Linked DNA regions of Homo sapiens: region 1 is linked to region 2. Evidence: promoter capture Hi-C in human tissues and cell types (Jung and others, 2019). All regions are on one chromosome and are shown on one strand. Each heading gives the region's core, a stretch centred on a gene start or on the middle of the fragment in contact. The rest is flanking DNA. Distances are from core to core; before and after follow the strand shown.

Region 1 (2,700 bases), core at 58-2,557, 81 kb before region 2:
TATAGTATTAGATATCAGATACTAGGGAATGTTTAGATACATTAAGTATGATAATGGTACTGTGGTAATGAGAACATCTTATAAGATGCATGATAAAGTGATGTCACGTCTATAACTTACTTTCAAACTATTGTTAACTCTAGATCGAGAACACATGGGGGGTTCATTGTACTGTTTTTTTTTTTTTTTGAGACGGAGTCTGTCTGTTCCCCAGAATGGAGCGCAATGGCGCCAATCTTGGCTCACTGCAACCTCTGCCTCCTGGTTCGAGGTATTCTCCTGCCTCAGCCTCCTGAGTAGCTGAGAATCAAGGCGTGTGACACCACACCTGGCTAATTTTTGCATTTTCAGTAGAGACAAGGGTTTCCCCATGTCAGCCAGGCTGGTCTCGAACTCCTGACCTCATGATCCACCCGTCTTGGCTTCCCAAAGTGCTGGGATCACAGGAATAAGCCACCACGCCCAGTGTGACTCCTTTTAGTTAGCCGGATTTCTCTGTAAAATACACATTTTCATGTTGCATTTGCTTTCCAGTCATCAAGGTCAATGCAAATAAATTTTATCTTATAAAGGAACACTTTGTAGTCTCCTGTGAATAGGTCCTTAATTATGTTGTTTCAAAAGGTCTCACAAAGCAACTAAAGTACTACAAATTCAGCACAAGGAATGGGTGCATGAAGCAAAGGAGTTCTAAATTTTAACCAACCCACTTTACTTTTTCCCTTCCCAACACACAAAGCTGTGATTAACGCAGGAGAAAGTATTATTAATGAGAACTAAGCTGACCTGAAGAGCCATAACAACATATCCCATTTGCTATGTTTTAGGTTTTCCTACATGAGGCCCAGAATTTGGGGGGAAATAACTCCATGTGCACACCAGCCCCCAAACCTCATTTAACAGTGATGCCTTCAAAAATAAATCTTTCCCCCAACCTAACAGTGATGCCTTCGAAAAAAAGTCTTTCCTTATGCTGTTTCATACATATGGTAGAAAATAAAATTGTCAAGATATTTATTGTGTTAACATGTGAGACATACAATTTGCTCAGTAAAAATAGCACATGAAAAAATATTATAAGCTTATATTCATAAAGAAATGGGTATGTTATTACCTCTTTTTCTTGCTTGCTCAGGACTATTAATTTGACAAGGTTGGAATGTGCACAGCACAGCTGAGACACCACCATTTTAACACTGAATCACTATACCATGAACTGACAGAACCCTGCATGAAGGATGAAAAACTCATACCCAAAGTCAAGAATCACACAGCAGCATGGAGGGGGAAAATGAACTATATGATGCTAACCGCATTTAATTTCGAAGTGGGGGGAAACAGGGCATGGGGAGTGAATAATGGTTGAAGTTCCAGGCTCTAACTGTACATCCTTAAGTAAATTAAGTTTAACTCATCTATTAAAAAGTGAGTTAAAACAGATGAGTTTTAAGGTCCATCTCAACTCTAAATGAGACACTAGCAAAAACAAGGAATCCACCACTTCAGATCCTTATGAAACCCAGGAAAAGGTGGGGCACAGTGGCTCACCTGAGGGCAACAGTTGGAGACCAGCCTGACCAACACAGTGAAACCCCATCTCTACTAAAAATAACAAAAATTAGCTGGGTGTGGTGGCGGACACCTGTAATCCCAGCTATTTGGGAGGCTGAGGCAGGAGAATTACTTGAACGGGGTGTGGGGGTGGGGGGTGGAGGTTGCAGTGAGCTGAGATTGCACCATTGCACTCTAGCCTGGGCAACAGAGCGAGACTGTCTCAAAAAAAAAAAAAAAAAAAAAAAAGGCCCAGGAAAAACACAAAAATAGCAATGGTATTAAAACTGTTCAGAATCGGCCAGACACGGTGGCTCGCACCTGTAACACTAGCACTTTGGGGGGCGGGGCAGGTGGATCACCTGAGGTCAGGAGTTGGAGACCAGCCCGACCAACATGATGAAACCCAGTCTCTACTAAAAATACAAAAAATAGGCCGGGCGCGGTGGCTCACGCCTGTGATCCCAGCACTTTGGGAGGCCAAGGCGGGCGGATCACGAGGTCAGGAGATTGAGACCATCCTGGCTAACACCGTGAAACCCCGTCTTTACTAAAAATACAAAAAAAAAAAATTAGCTGGGCGCGGTGGCGGGTACCTGTAGCCCCAGCTACTCAGGAGGCTGAGGCAGGAGAATGGCACGAACCCAGGAGGCGGAGCTTGCAGTGAGCCGAGATCGCACCACTACACTCCAGCCTGGGCAACAGAGCGACACTCTGTCTCAAAAAAAAATAAAAAAATAAAATAAAAATAAAAATACAAAAAATTAGCGGGGGGTGGTGGCGGGTGCCTGTAATCCCAGCTACTCAGGAGGCTGAGGCAGGAGAATTGCTTGAACCCGGGAGGTGGAGGTTGCAGTGAGCCAAGCCTGCACTCCAGCCTGGGCGACAAGAGTGAGACTCCGTCTCCAAAACAAAACAAAACCACCACCACCAAAAAACCTGTTCAGACTGAACACAGAACTCAAGGGCATTATTATAACAGATTACAAAGTGAATTTTCTATAGCTTTGCAAAAGTATCTAAATCCCATACATCCTTTTAACAGCAATTTTCATTATTGAAGACATGACTTAAGTACAAAAAGAAAAGTCCAAACTGTCAGCTTTCAGTCCTCCACATTCCCCTCTTTAATATGGTATTTTGCACTAT
Region 2 (2,700 bases), core at 46-2,545:
CCTCTGCCTCAGCCTCCTGCCTCTCCTCTCCACAGCCCACTCCTTCTCCTGCCCACAGGCCTGCGGGCTTCCCCTCCCCAGGCAAGCTGGGGCCGTGTCGCAGCGCTTGGCCATCACGACTTTGCCATTGCCAATGCAATCTGGCTCACTGGCATGCACTGTGCTTACCTTAGCCTCAGGGTGTCCTGCATAGGTCCCCAGGAAGATAAACCCTGGGTGATGTGTCATTTTCCCCTTTCCGTTCCTTCCCACGCCCTTCCCCCCACCTCCCCGCGTAGGCAGCGCATCTAGTTGGCACTCCATAAATATCCAAAGTATTTACAAAATAACGTAGAAGTTCTATGCTGTTTAGTTAGATCTCTTAAGGTTGATAATGTACAAGGCAATTTGCATCAGGAGCAGACGAGATAGGGCCCGGCAGATATAAATTAAAAATGCAATTGCACGCATTCATTCAACGAGAACTCACTGAGCAACTACTATGTGCCAACATTATCCACTGCAGTGAATAAAAGACAAACAAACAAGCAAATAACAAAAAAAAAAACAAAAGAGCAAGAAAGTGGCCGGGTGCAGTGGCTCACCGCTGTAATCCCAGCACTTTGGAAGGTCGAGAAAGGAGGATCGCTTGAGGCCACGAGTTCAAGACCAGACTGGGCAACATCATAGTGAGACCTCGTCTCTACAAAAATTAAAAAATTAGTCGGGGGTGGTGCGCCCAGCTCTACTCGGGAGGCTGAGGTGGGAGGATCGCTTGAGCCCAGGAACTGTAGGCTGCAGTGAGCCAGGATCGCACAACTGCACCACAGCCTGGGCAGCAGAACGAGAAATAAATAAACAAATAAAAGCCAGAAAGTAAAAATAAAGTGTTAGATGGCGATTCGAGCTGAGGAGGAAATCAGGCAGGGGAAAGAATCTGAAAGCGAGGAGTGAGTGGCTGGCAAGGCTCCTTCGGAAGGTGGCAATAACAGTCATAGACCGGTCACATCAATTGGGTGTTTACTGCGGGCCAGTGTGTGCCACCAACCTCACACCCGAAAGCCACAAAGACTCACGCCACAACGCAACGAGGCAGGGGCTCCTCCTCCTCCCTTGGTATACGGAAAGAAGCGTAGGGAGCAGAGTTGGGATGCTAGTCAGTACCCCCCTGCACCTAGCCCTTGCCCCTCCGTCTGGCTTTCCCCACTCCCGCTCCGGCGGAGCTAAGGTTAACATTAGACGAGGCTGTGGCTACCGGAAAGAGCGCAGGCGCAGAGCGCGGAATGCGCCTGCGCAGAGCGCTGGGCGACGTGGCCAGTCGGGGCCCGGAAGTGGTCCCTGTAGAACCACTGTGGCACCGCTACTCCGTGCCGCGCCCGTCGAGCATTGCGTTGCTGCATTGCGCCCCACCGACTCCACTATGTTGAAGAAATTCGACAAGAAGGATGAGGAGTCAGGTGAGGGGGCCAGGCCTGGGTCTGAGGGAGGCCGGACCCCCACCCGCCGAGCTTTCCTTCTGGTTCTCTGTCCTGACCCGGAGGCTGAGGCCCAGTGAGGGGCAGGGGCTTGTGCCAGGGTCCACAGCTAGTCAGTGGCAGGCCTCGGAGAGCCCGAGCATGCGCGGCTGTCTCACTCTTGTAAGCTCGGACTGCAATTTTCTGGGTGACCTTGGGCGCGACAAACACCCCCCCCCCCAGGCCTCAATTTACCCATCTGTCAAAGGAGGGGACCATGCCGAATGTTCTCTTGTTACTTTCTTCGTCCAACCTCTTGGGATTCGCTGGGGCTACGTTGGTGCTGGCCAAACTGGGGTGTAACCTGCGGAGCCAGCGTCCTGTGACTGGGAACTCTGACCCCATCATTCATTTATTCAGCAAAGTATATTGAGCAGTTACTGTATGCCAGGTACTGTACGGTGTCCTGGATACTGCAACAGAGCAAGTGGGACACTCAGTGCCTGAGCTAGGAATATTAGAATGGTTGCACCCACGATGGAGGAGGCAGACATCAACCAGATAATCACACGTGTAATTATTTGCAAATGTGTCATCTGCTATGAAGGAACTAGTTACAACGAGATGGTGGTCCCTGGCACATAGGGACTTAGTTAATTACAAGTTATATAAATGAACACAAGACATGGCACCATGAGAAGCACAGGACTGTACCAGGGCTGCTGGGAGATTGTGAGTGGTTTGGGGTAGAGTGGAGCCCACCTGCTTGCAGGAGACTAGTAGGATCCCTAGACAGATTGTAGAGGCTTGATTGCCATTCCTGAGGAGTTTGAACTTTACTAGATTTCCTAGGAAGGGACATCTTCCCTTTACCTATGTCTGGGAGAGTTTTGAAGTTCAGAGTCACAACCTACCTTCTCCATTGTCCTTGACCGTAGGTGGAGGCTCCAACCCATTCCAGCACCTTGAGAAGAGTGCGGTACTCCAGGAGGCAAGTGACATTTGCTCCCCTCTAGCTTCCATCATAAATATTCACCACCAATGCAACTGAAATACCAACACATTCAAAGTGTTGTTTTAAAGAGCAACACGGGAGAAAACTTGTGCCTGGAAGTTTTCTGGAAGACAGGAAAACTTTGTTTCTGGAGAGAGTTAGTTATGCTTACTTCTTTTTTTTTTTTTTTTTTTTTTTTTTTCTGAGACAGAGTCTTGCTCTGTCGCTCAGGCTGGAGTGCAGTGGCGTGATCTCGGCTCACTGCAAGCTCCG

Evidence for each region. Contacts are between HindIII fragments. The study calls those that stand out against the background at their distance.
Region 1: a fragment that was not itself captured here is called in contact with the fragment with the promoter of COPG1 in region 2 in 2 of the 25 tissues and cell types used here (bladder and mesenchymal stem cells).

Annotation. Positions count from the first base shown.
Region 1 is chr3:129,166,830-129,169,529 of GRCh38, forward strand. It overlaps CNBP (CCHC-type zinc finger nucleic acid binding protein), which reads right to left. Exons shown (of 5, transcript NM_003418.5): 5 at 998-2,700. Among named protein-coding and RNA genes, the nearest start is that of ISY1-RAB43, 7.1 kb to the left of the region's middle. The HindIII fragment of the contact is 4,446 bases long and covers 1-2,700 here.
Region 2 is chr3:129,248,311-129,251,010 of GRCh38, forward strand. It overlaps COPG1 (coat protein complex I subunit gamma 1), which reads left to right and starts at 1,296. Exons shown (of 24, transcript NM_016128.4): 1 at 1,296-1,436; 2 at 2,372-2,424. The coding sequence starts at 1,400. The HindIII fragment of the contact is 12,995 bases long and covers 1-2,700 here.